Linked DNA regions of Homo sapiens: regions 1, 2 and 4 are each linked to region 3. The links are contacts of gene promoters, found by promoter capture Hi-C in human tissues and cell types (Jung and others, 2019). All regions are on one chromosome and are shown on one strand. Each heading gives the region's core, a stretch centred on a gene start or on the middle of the fragment in contact. The rest is flanking DNA. Distances are from core to core; before and after follow the strand shown. Region 1 overlaps LRRC8E (leucine rich repeat containing 8 VRAC subunit E). Region 2 overlaps EVI5L (ecotropic viral integration site 5 like). Region 3 holds the start of CAMSAP3 (calmodulin regulated spectrin associated protein family member 3). Region 4 overlaps TIMM44 (translocase of inner mitochondrial membrane 44).

Region 1 (2,977 bases), core at 1-2,500, 300 kb after region 3:
CCCTGCCCCTGGGGCCCTAGTAACCAGAGCCAGGCTCCAGCCGGCTTTTCCGGTTAGAGGTTGGAGGTGGTGCCCAGAGTGCCCCTGGAGGGGGTGGAGGGGCCTACGCCCCGGAAGTCCTGAGCCTTGGAACGCTTTCAGGCCTGGTGGCGGTGGGAGCCGGGGCTGGCCCAGACGCTGAGTGTCTGCAGTCAGGGAGCATCGAGGCAGATGTTTTCAGGCCTTGGTGTCAGGGGTGGGAGAGGGATGCCTCGTTTTGGGGAGGGGGCCACCCGAGGAGGCTGGAGGGCGGCGGCCCTGTGGACTATCCCTCATGTGCTCTTCGAGGTCAGACAAGTCAGATCAGGTGCAGGGGTGCCCAGAGGGGAACAGTGGCCGCTTGGTTCTGGGCAGGTGGTGACGTCTGCATGGAGGGTGACTAAGGCCAGGCTAAGAGGGAAGTGGGGGCACACACTTTGGTGGTTTGGACAAGTTTGGGCAGGGAGGGTCACAGGCCTGCCTGTGTCCGGCTCCTCGGAGGACCCCCTGCAGAGCCTCCCATCCTGAGGGTCTCTCTCTACACCCCCCGTCTCGTCCCGTCCCACAGGCAGCATGATCCCAGTGGCCGAGTTCAAGCAGTTCACGGAACAGCAGCCTGCGTTCAAGGTGCTCAAACCCTGGTGGGACGTGCTGGCCGAGTACCTCACCGTGGCCATGCTCATGATTGGGGTCTTTGGCTGCACCCTCCAGGTGAGGCCCTCCCCTGGCAAGGGGGTGTGACCAGAGGGGCGGGGCAGGTGTCTGGGGAAGTCGGGAAGCCTTCTCATCACCCAAGAAAGAGAGGAAACTGAAGACAGAGCCCCACTCAAAGGCCAATCCAGACCCCTTATCTTCCTTACCTCCATAGCCAGGAGCACCGGAGTCCCCACATTGCTATGCCATTCCATATCTTTTTTTCTTTTTTGAGACGGAGTCTCACTCTGTCACCCAGGCTAGAGTACAGTGGCATGATCTCAGCTCCCTGCAACATCTGCCTCCCGGGTACAAGCGGTTCTCCTGCCTCAGCCTCCTGAGTAGCTGGGATTACAGGCGCCCACCACCACGCCTGGCTAATTTTGGTAGTTTTTTAGTAGAGATGGGGTTTCACCATGTTAGCCAGGCTGGTCTCGAACTCCTGACCTCAAGTGACCTGCCTGCCTGGGCCTCCCAAAGTGTTGGGATTACAGGCCTGAGGCACTGCACCTGACCCTTTCTTTTTTTTTCTTTTTTTTTTTTTTCTTTTTGGCTAAAAAGAGACAGGGGCCGGGCATGGTGGCTCACACCTGTAATCCCAGCACTTTGGGAGGCCAAGGTGGGAGTATCACTTAAGGCCAGAAGTTTGAGACCAGCCTGGCCAACACGGTGAAAACCCGTCCTTACTAAAGACACAAATATTAGCCAGGCATGGTGGTGGACACCTGTAATCCCAGCTACTTGGAAGGCTGAGGCAGGAAAATTGCTTGAACCTGGGAGGTGGAGGTTGCAGTGAGCCGAGATCATGCCACTGCACTCCAGCCTGGGTGACAGAACGAGACTCCATCTTAAAAAAAATAAAATAAAATAATTGAAAATTAAAATAAAGAAACACGGTCTCATTCTGTCATCCAGGTTGGAGTGCAGTGGCATGATCACAGCTCACTGCAGCCTTGAACTCCTGGACTCAAGTGATCTTCCCGCCTCAGCCTCCAGAGTAGCTGGGATTACAGGCACACACCACCACGTCCAGCTAATTTTTAAATTTCTTGTTGACACAGGGGTCTTGCTATGTTGCCCAGGCTTGTCTCGGACTCCGGGCCTCAAGCCATCCTCCCACCTCGGCCTCCCAAAGTGCTGGGATTACAGGTGTGAGCCACTGTGTCCAGCCCCATATTTTCACAATGCTCAGTTTTATCCCTAGAATCTGGAAAGGACTGCAGTTGCTATATGAGTTTGTTACTTCTGTTGTAACAAAGTAGCAGGGATTGAGTGGCTTAAATAACCAGAAATGTTTCCTCTTCTGGGTCTGGTTCTGGAGGCCAGAAGTCTGAGATCAAGGCGTCAGTTGTCAGTGAGGGAGAATCTTCCAAGCTTCCCTCCTAGATTTTTGCAGCTCCAAGAGTTCCTTGGCTTGTAGATGACATTCTCCCAGTATTTTTCTTTTTCTTTTTCTTTTTTTTTTAGACAGAGTCTCCCTCTGTCGCCCAGGCTGGCATGCAGTGGTGCGATCTCGGCTCACTGCAACCTCCGCCTCCCGGGTTCCAACAATTCTCCTGGCTTAGCCTCCCAAGTAGCTGGGATTACAGGCGTGTGCCACCACGCCCGGCTAATATTTTTTTGTATTTTTAGTAGAGACGTGGTTTCAGTATGTTGGCCAGGCTGGTCTTGAACTCCTGACCTCGTGATCAGGATCAGCCTGCCTCTGTCTCCCAAAGTGCTGGGATTACAGGCATGAGCCACTGCGCCTGGTCGAGACAGTTTTTTTTTTTTTTTTTTAAGCAAGCTCTGTCACCTAGGCTGGAGTGCAGTGGCGCAATAATAGCTCACTGTAACCTTGTACTCCTGGCCTCAAGCAATCCTCCTCTACCACCCCCGCTTGGCCCCCCCTCCCACTGCCTCCCAAATCACTGGGATTACAAGCCTGAGCCACCGCACCCAGCCTCTCCCTGTATCCTCACGTCATCTTCTGTCTTTGTGTCTGTCTCTGTGTCTATGTTTCCCCTTTCTCTAAGGCGCAGTCATACTGGGCCCACCCTACTGGCTTTGTCTTGACTACCTCTGCAAAGACCCTATTACCAAACAGGAGCCGCCTGACCCAGCTCAAATAATACCACATTCTAAGGATTCGGAGTTGGGACTTCAACATCTTTTGTGGGGACACGATTCAACCCAGCTCCTTTTCTCAGACAAAGACCAGTGCTTTGTCAGTTGTGGTGGCTCATTCCTGTAATCCCAGCACTTTGGGAAGCTGAGGCAGGGGATC
Region 2 (2,822 bases), core at 2-2,501, 260 kb after region 3:
GTGGCGCCATGGTGGGGAGCCACAGCCCGGACTCTGCTCCCCAACATGCTAAAGATGGGGGTGGAATTGGGGGCTCACTGAGCCCCAGCCCCGGGAGCCCCCAATTCCTGCTCCTCACTCGTCCTCACTTGACCCTCCACTGGCCACAGGAAGTGGGTTGGCAGCCGGATTTGGTTGCCCTCACCCCAAAGCCTTGTTCTGCCTTAAAATTACAACGCACCCCCTCCTCTCCCACTCTCCAGGAGGTCCGCACGAAGCCAAAAGTCCCCCTGCCCCCCACAGTTTTTCCAGCCAGCAGCGGCCCGGCTGACCCTGGAGGGTGGGACAGTGGGTTTCCCAGCCCTGCGGCCTCCCCCACAGCCGCGGGCACCCCCGACCTCCCCGCTCACACCGAACCCCTCTCCAGGACGGAGCTGGCTCTAGCTTTGGTCTTCCTCCGGGTCCTCTCCTGCTGGTTCTCTGGTCTTCCCTCCTCTCTCCCCCGCTTCTAGAGATAGTCCACTGCGTTAGTGACAAGTGGTTCTTGTCTGTCTCCCCTCTCCTGTCCCCGCGCCTTCCGCTCTGCCTCCTCCCCCTGTCGCTGGGAACCCCCTTCGCCGGGTAGGAGAGCGCTGCTCTGGCTGATAGGTTAATCCAGGTACTGTAGCTTTTTATCCCCTCTCCGGATTCCTTCCTGGCCCCTTCCCTGCACCCTGCACATGACAGCCAGTAACCGCCTCTTCCCTGCCATTCTGCGGGCAGGCCTGGCGCCATGCATGGAGCAGCTGGGGACCGCTTCTGGGGGACACAGAGGCTTCCCGGGGGGGCGGGGCATGTGAAGTGGGGAGAAGGGTGTGTGTGGAGGGGCTGTGAGTGCGTTTGGGTGTGAATGTCCACATGCATGTACAGAAAGCTTCCTCCGGGCGACACAGGGTGGGGACCCAGGAGGGCTGGGGAACCTAAAACCATATTCACATAAGGCCCTGGTGTGTGCAGTGCTGCGGTCACACACACACACAACACATGCACACACACACACGCACACACACGCCCGGCCCTCACGCTGCTGCTCTCTGCTCCTACCTGCAATGCCTGCTACCACCTTCTCTAGCTCACCTGCTCCTGCTGCCACCTCATCTTGAATGGCTTTATCTGGAAGCTGCCACCCGCCACCTGGTGGCTTTGAGCCTGGAATGGGGGGCCCAAGTTGGGTAGGGGACAAAGATGAGGTGGGGGAAAAAAGGGGGTCTTAGCTCCAGGCAGGTGGAGGCCCCAGAGCCCAGGACTAGAGAAGATGCCGCTGGGAGAGGTGAATGCCCTGGGGAGCCCAGCCCTCTCCTGCCGGGGCCTCAGCTGTCCCCAGATCCTCACCCTCACCGGCAGAGTCTGGCATGAATAGGCACAGGTGGCCTCGCTGTGCCCCTGGATAAGGATCCCAACTGGGGCAGAGACTGAGAGCCAGAGTGGGGAAGGAGATGGAGCTTTCCAAGCCCAGGGCTAGCTCTGTTCCTCCCGGGCTCCTCCAGGTGTCCTATTCCTGCCTGTCACCCACCCACGTCCCCAGGCCCAGTGGGACGCTCATCCCAGGCTCTGAGTACGGGAGGCCCCCACCTCACTTCCCCCCACCTCCACTCTCTGGGCCTCCCCCTGTGGCGGGAGGCAGGGCCTTGGGTGGGAGCCGAGGGTCACGGCCTCCCCCTGCCCCCTGTCCTCGCTGTTCTCAGGGGCAAGTGACACGGGCGCAGGAGGCGGAGGAGAACTACGTCATCAAGCGGGAGCTGGCGGTGGTGCGGCAGCAGTGCAGCTCGGCGGCCGAGGACCTGCAGAAGGCACAGAGCACCATCCGGCAGCTACAGGAGCAGCAGGTAGGGGCGGGTGTGCGGGGCTGCTGGGCGGGGCCATGACCCGCGCCCCCGCCCCCGCCCAACGGTTTTCTTTCAGGGCTCATAATCTGCCCCGCCTCAGCACCTGGCCCTCCTGTTCCTTTCTGGGGTAAGGGGAACCCAGAGACAAGCGCAGATTCTCCCCCAGCAGCTCCACATTCTGAGACATCCTGATATCCATTTCTTGCCACCTCATAGTGTGTCTGCAGTATCTGACTTCCCAACCCCCAGCCTCAGCACGGAGGCCTCTGAAGACCGGGCTGTCCCTGCAGGGTTTCCTCTGTGTCACAGGCAGCAGACAGGGCTGTGACTCCTTACGGAGGCTCTTGCCTGTCCCCAGGGTCTGAAGGATTGTTAGGTGTCCCTGGGGGGCCAGCCATGGAGAATGGGAGCAGGGCAGTCCGGGACTGTTTGGGGAGCTCTGAGCCAGCAGGGTGGGGCTGAGGGGGCACCTTGAGTGTCTTGAGGGCCATGAACTTTGGGTCCCATGATGGGCAGGCCCATGAGTGGGGCCCCACCCCAAGATTTTCTTCTCCTGAAAGCTTTTAGAACTTAACTGCGACCTGGTGCAGTGGCTCACGCCTTAATCTCAGCACTTTGGGAGGCTGAGGCAGGTGGATCACCTGAGGTTAGGAGTTCGAGACCAGCCTGGCCAACATGATGAAGCCCCATCTCTAATAAAAATACAAAAATAAGCTGGGTATGGTGGTGCGCACCTGTAGTCCCAGCTACTCAGGAGGCTGAGGCAGGAGAATCACTTGAACCCGGGAGGTGGAGGTTGCAGTGAGCCAAGATGGCACCACCGCACTCCAGCCTGGGTGACAGAGCAAGACTCCATCTCAAAAAAAAAAAAAAAAAAAACTTAACTGCAGCTGCACTCAGCAGTTGGCCTTCCTGATCGCAGGGACCCCCAGTGGCTGCAGTCCTAAGCCCTGCAGGCCACAGGGACACATGCCCTGG
Region 3 (3,067 bases), core at 362-2,861:
CCTGAGCGATAGAGCGAGACTCCGTCTCAAAAAATCAATCAATCAATCAATCACACATCCATGTGCATATAGCCAGATTCACATACTCAAATACAAACCCACTTAGACACACAGCCTCACCTCCACACAGAGCCTTCTCCCAGCACACACTGCAGATACCAGAATAATACACAAAGACACTTGCAAATACACCCAGTACAGCTACGCAAGGACACTCATAGACACAAATAGTCACACTCTTGCAGAAATATACACACTTTTTTTTTTTTTTTGAGACAGGGTCTCACTCTGTTGGCCAAGCTGGAGTGCAGTGGCACTATCTCAGCTTCTGCCTCCCTGGTTCAAGCGATTCTCCCGCCTCAGCCTCCCGAGTACTTGGGATTACAGGCATGCACCATTATGCCCGGCTAATTTTTAAAAATTTTATTTTTAGTAGAGACGGGGTTTTGCTATGTTGGCCAGGCTACTCTTGAACTCCTGGCCTCAAGTGATCTGCCCGCCTTGGCCTCCCAAAGTGCTGGGATTACACTCGTGGCCACCGCTCTCGGCCTGAAATACACACACTCTCAATGTCTCTCCATACTCCTGCATTGACAGAGGCATCAATAACAGCCTCATACAACACACCAGTACGTTCAGATGCACAGAGATAGACATACTCACAGCACTCCAAAAACACACACACAGCCGGGCACGGTGGCTGCCGCCTGTAATCCCAGCACTTTGGGAGGCTGAGGCGGGTGATCACCTGAGGTCAGGAGTTTGAGACTAGCCTGGCTAACATGGTGAAACCCCAACTCTACTAAAAATACAAAAATTAGCCGGGAGTGGTGGCGCAACCCCGTAATCCCAGCTACTCGGGAGGCTGAGGCAGGAGAATCGCTTGAGCCTGGGAGGCGGAGGTTGCAGTGAGTCGAGATCGCGCCACTGCACTCCAGCCTGGGAGACAGAGTGAGTGAGACCCTGTCTCAAAAACAAAAACAAAAACAAAAACAAAAAACAGACACACACTCATCACTTCCATCCATCCTCAGGATACAGACATCTATATAATACATATCCTTGTACACACAACAAATTAAACACACACTTACACGTGCCCAGATACATACCCCACACACACACACCCCTAGACACCCCCCAATACACTTGGTCACCACCCAAATGTATTCAGAGATACACAGATACGAAGACACTCATATTCTTGTGCCTTCACTAACATAATCAGAAACAGGTGCACCCAACCACTCTCTGCCTGAGGGCCGGCGTTTATTGCAAGCACTTGCAGGAGCTCCTACGCCTAAGGGTAGACACTGGGGCTGGCACACACAGAGGGTCCCTAATCCTTTCCAGTAAGCTAGGCGCGCGCGCACACACTCACACACGCGCGCGCGCACACATACACACTCAGTCCTCCGCAAGCTCCCTCCACCATCGCCGCAGTCCAGGCCGCCCCCCTCCGCCCCGCCCCTGCTGCTCCGTGCACACTGCAGTGAGGGGCCCGGGCGGGGCGCAGGGGCGCGCCAGGGTCCGGGTCCGGGTTCGGGGGCGGGGCGCACCTGGGCTCCTCCCCGGGGCGGGCCCGACGCAGCGTCGCCAGCGCAAGCGGCCGCACCTGGCTCAGCAGCGGCGGCGGCGGCGGCGGCGGCAGCGGCGGTAGCAGCAGCGGGCCCGGCTGGGGCGCGAGCGCGGCGCAGCCCAGCCCAGCCCAGTCCGAGCGCGGACCCGGCGCCCGCAGCCCCGGCGCCGCCATGGTGGAGGCGGCGCCCCCCGGGCCCGGGCCGCTGCGGAGGACCTTTCTAGTGCCCGAGATCAAGTCGCTGGACCAGTACGATTTCTCGCGGGCCAAGGCGGCGGCCAGCCTGGCGTGGGTGCTGCGGGCCGCGTTCGGGGGCGCAGGTACCGGGGCTCGGGGGACCGGGGTCGGGGGCGGCGGGCCGGGCGCGGCAGGTGCTGGGGGGGGGCGGGGCGCCGGGCCGGGAAGGCAGGGGGCCGTGGGAACAATAGCGCCGGCCGCCGGGGGTCCCCGGGCTCGGGCCCCTGCCGCGCCGGGGCCTCCGAGCTTCCTGCTCGGCCCGGGCGGTGGACTTTGCCCCGCCGGCTGCGGGAGCGCGGTGGGGGTGGGGCCCGCGGCCCAGCTCCGCGCGGGGGTCCCCGGCGTCCAAGCCTCCAGGTGAGCCGGGCGGGGTCTGCGGGCCGGGTGGGGTCTCCCCGTGCGGACCTCTCGTTCCCGCCTCCCGCACCCCCAAGGCCTTCCCTTGCACGCCTTCTTCTCTTTTACACACATCACGCCCCTGCGAGGATCTCCTCTCGGTCTCTTCCCCCGCCACACACCCTGGAGACCCAGACCCCGACCTCGCTGGGGGGTCTCGAGCGCTCCGGTCTCCACCACCGCACGACCCCCAGGCCCCAACACACACCCCGCGTCGGCCCTGGCCGCGCTGCGGGCGGCGACCGGGGAGCTCTGGGAACCCCCTTTCGCCTCCATAGCCCCCTCCAGCGCCTGGCAGCTGCGACTTATGGCCCCATTTTACTGGGGAGGTTGGCGAGCCCAGCTGAAGGGAAATGGGTAGTACAAGATCGCCTGGGGTGGGCCCCCCGCTCCTCCCGGCTGCGGGGCCTTCTCCCATTAGAGCAGATCCTTCACTCCCTCCCCCAGGCCCGCTTGCCTGAGAGCCCGAGCCACCCTAATGGGGAGGATGCCGTAATCCCGGGTCCCCGGGATTAGAGGCCCTGGAAACACTCAGTCTCGGCTTTGGGCAGCTTCACAACCCCAGGCCAGAGCTAGGAGTCAGGGCCTGGCCAGAGAAGACAGGGGTTAATTAAGGTCTGGGCTTTCCAGCGGGGAGCTGTGGGGGTACATCCTTTTCTCCCACTGGTTCTGCCCACTGGTGTTGGCACAGCCCATCCCCCCTCTCCCTGGCCTTCCCAGATCAACCTGTTCTGGGTGTGGGTCTCAGTGACAGCTGTCCGTCTCCTGGTTCCGCCCCAGCCTGTCCCTCTTTCTCCCAGACAGTCTCTGTCTGCGTCGTTCCATGCATGCATTTCCCACTCTGGGGTCTACCTC
Region 4 (3,000 bases), core at 374-2,873, 340 kb after region 3:
TCACCTCTCACCCTCAAATTCGAGGGAGCCGGGAACCTTGGGCAGAAGGCAAACTCAAGAAACGGACTCAGGAGGGAACCATTGGTGGGCTCCCGAAATGGACAGCAGTGAAAGCTGCCCAAAATGGGGGCAGCGAGGGCCACGGGCTGGTACCTACTCGTTTGGCTCAAACACTTTCTCCTCCTTGAACTTATCTCCCGCAAACTCCGTTCTCTTCCGGAGTCGCTGGGGCCTCCGGTAGGGCCCGGTCTGTCCCAGGACGCTGTCGTCAATTTCCTTCTTCACGGACTCCACCCCCTGCGAGGGAGGCACAGCGGGGCTGGGGTGGGTGTCTGGGTTCGGCCGCCCCAGGCTGCATGCCCTAGCCCAGGACTGGGCTCACCTGGGAGAGGGCTCTGAAGGCCGCTGTCCTGCCCAGCTTCTCCCCGCCTTTGGATACCGACTCGGCCGACTGCTTGGCCGTCTTGGCTGCTTCCTCCACGCCCTCCTTGATTTTCCGGCCGAGATCACTTTTACTGACTTCGTGAAGGCTCTACTGAGACAGACACAGAGAGGGGGCGTTGGCACCGGCCCTGGCGGCCGGGGGGCGGGGCAGGAGGAATGAATTCCTGCCGGAGAGAAGGGCGGATCTGGTTCCCCGAGGCCGGCAGAGGCCTTCTGTGCTCCTGTGGTACGCGGCACCCCCAGAGCCATGAGCACAACGGCACCCCCAGAGCCACGAGCACACCGCCACCCCCAGAGCCACGAGCACACCGGCACCCCCAGAGCCATGAGCACACCGGCACCCCCAGAGCCATGAGCACACCGCCACGGCTTCCGGGATGCTGGCCCTGGGCTCTGGGTGAGACGCTGGGTCTGCTGGCCCCTTTCCAAAATGGGCAGGAGTCCTCTGGAGACCCGGGAACTGCCTGGCAGCAAGGATTCCCAAGGAGGGGACCCCGGGGAAAGAACGGCGGTGAGGGCGCCCCATGCTGCGCAAAGCTGGACAGAACAGACAACCGAGGAGAGCCGCAGCACCCCAGGAATCCTGCCTCCCGCCTCTACCCTCGGGAGGGGGTGGAAGCGGCCCCTCTCCTCCTATTTTTAGGCAGGAAAAACATTTTCATGTTCTCCTCGAGTCCTGGCTAGCAGCACTTACTGCTGCCGACTCCCTGGGTCAACGGTCATGCAAGGTTGCCAGTCTGACCTCACCCTGCATGTGCCGGGAACTCCTGAAACCTTCCCGAGGGTGGCAGCACGCCCCATGCCACCCACTGCTGCCAAGCCACCCCCACCCAGGAGCCGACTCTTCCTCCAGCCTCCAGCGGCCAGGGGACTTTGATGGCCCCAGCGGCTCCAGGCGGGCGTGGAACTGTTACCTCCTTCACGGTGCCCGTCAGCTCCCCAAGCTTCTTCCGTAGCACCTCGCTCGTCCGCACGGTTTCTGACTCGATGGTTTTCTAGGTAAAGAGCGCTGTGTCCTTTTTTTTTTTTTTTTTTTTGAGACAATGTCTCCGTTGCCGAGGCTGGAGTACAGTGGCACGCTCTCGGCTCACTGCAACTTCCTCCTGCCAGATTCAAGCGATTTTCCTGCCCCAGCCTCCCGAGTAGCTGGGACTACAGGGCCCACCACCATGCCTGGCTAATTTTTGTATTTTCAGTAGAGACAGGGTTTTACCACGTTGGCCAGGCTGGTCTCAAACTTCTGACCTCAAGTGATCCACCCGCCTCGGCCTCCCAAAGTGCTGGGATTATAGGTGTGAGCCACTGTGCCTGGCCAACCGTTGTGTCTTTAAGTCTGTATGTTCTGACACGGCAGTGACATTTCTCTTACAGCCAAAGGTCCAAGAAGCATCTTCTCCGCAGCCCCTCCCTCCCCGCACCTGCCAGCATGTGCTGCCTCCAGGGCCCCCGGCTGCCCACATGGCTTGGATTGAGGGTCTCAGCAGCGGTGAGCTCCTTGCTCAGAAGGCCGGCAGACTCGGGTCCCCGCTTGGCAGCTACCTCCTGAGAACAGGAGGCCCAGCCTTCACCTTTCACCGGGTGGTAGGAGGTGGCCTTGCCTGTCATCACTGTGCCCCTCATCCAGCCTCCAGCCACCACAGCTTGGTCTTATGTCTCCCGCTCCATCCATCCCACTCCAAACTCAGCCTGCTATGTCTTCAGATGACCCCTGCATTAATGATAAAGAGGGGCTGGGCATGTGAGCTGTAGTCCCAGCTCTTTGGGAAGCTGAGATGGGAGGATCGCTTGAGCCCAGAGAGTTCGAGACCAGCACAGGCAACATGGCGAGACCCTGTCTCTAGAAATATAAAAAAATTAGCCAGGCGTGGTATCCCATGCCTTTAGTCACAGCTACTCAGGAGGCTGAGGTGGGAGAATCACCTGAACATGGGAAGGTCAAAACTGCAGTGAGCTGTGATCACACCACTGCACTCCAGCCAGGGTGACAGAGCAAGACCCTGTCTCAAAAAACCAAACTAGGCTGGGCACGGTGGCTCATGCCTGTAATCCCAGCACTCTGGGAGGCCAAGGCGGATGGATCACCTGAGGTCAGGAGTTCAACACCAGCCTGGCCAAAGTGATGAAACCCCGTCTCCACTAAAAATACAAAAATTAGCCTGGCGTGGTGGTGGGCGCCTATAATTCCAGCTATTTGGAAGGCTGAGGCAGGAGAATCGCTTGAACCCAGGGAGGCGGAGGTTGCAGTGAGCCGAGATCGCACCATTGCACTCCAGCCTGGCTGACAGAGCAAGACTCCATCTCAAAGGAGAAAAACAAAAAACGAACAAACAAAAAAACACAAATGAAACCAAACCAAACCAAAATGCAAGGGACCCGTGGCAGGTGCCTGCATCTCTGAGGCTCAGCTGCTCATTGGTAAAATGGGGACACTGTAACTGCCTCGCAGGGCCCTTACAAATAAAGGAATGCAGAGCCATTCCCAGAAGCCAGGGCTTGGCAGCTGCTCAAGAAGAGAAGTGACAATTAATAATGACAGGCTGGGAGCAGTGGCTCACA

Evidence for each region. Contacts are between HindIII fragments. The study calls those that stand out against the background at their distance.
Region 1: a contact is called between a fragment that was not itself captured here and the fragment with the promoter of CAMSAP3 in region 3, in 2 of the 25 tissues and cell types used here (mesendoderm cells and thymus).
Region 2: a contact is called between a fragment that was not itself captured here and the fragment with the promoter of CAMSAP3 in region 3, in 2 of the 25 tissues and cell types used here (dorsolateral prefrontal cortex and spleen).
Region 4: a fragment that was not itself captured here is called in contact with the fragment with the promoter of CAMSAP3 in region 3 in 1 of the 25 tissues and cell types used here (liver).

Annotation. Positions count from the first base shown.
Region 1 is chr19:7,895,013-7,897,989 of GRCh38, forward strand. It overlaps LRRC8E (leucine rich repeat containing 8 VRAC subunit E), which reads left to right. Exons shown (of 3, transcript NM_025061.6): 2 at 587-729. The coding sequence starts at 592. Among named protein-coding and RNA genes, the nearest start is that of MAP2K7, 7.4 kb to the right of the region's middle. The HindIII fragment of the contact is 4,312 bases long and covers 1-2,977 here.
Region 2 is chr19:7,856,488-7,859,309 of GRCh38, forward strand. EVI5L (ecotropic viral integration site 5 like) reads left to right here. Exons shown (of 20, transcript NM_001159944.3): 12 at 605-637; 13 at 1,704-1,844. Among named protein-coding and RNA genes, the nearest start is that of PRR36, 16 kb to the right of the region's middle. RefSeq lists an enhancer at 830-1,615. The HindIII fragment of the contact is 4,169 bases long and covers 1-2,822 here.
Region 3 is chr19:7,594,252-7,597,318 of GRCh38, forward strand. It overlaps CAMSAP3 (calmodulin regulated spectrin associated protein family member 3), which reads left to right and starts at 1,612. Exons shown (of 17, transcript NM_020902.2): 1 at 1,612-1,899. The coding sequence starts at 1,752. RefSeq lists a silencer at 1,312-1,751 and an enhancer at 2,591-3,067. The HindIII fragment of the contact is 16,585 bases long and covers 1-3,067 here.
Region 4 is chr19:7,933,707-7,936,706 of GRCh38, forward strand. It overlaps TIMM44 (translocase of inner mitochondrial membrane 44), which reads right to left. Exons shown (of 13, transcript NM_006351.4): 4 at 1,359-1,439; 5 at 383-532; 6 at 158-297. Among named protein-coding and RNA genes, the nearest start is that of TIMM44, 8.5 kb to the right of the region's middle. The HindIII fragment of the contact is 6,270 bases long and covers 1-3,000 here.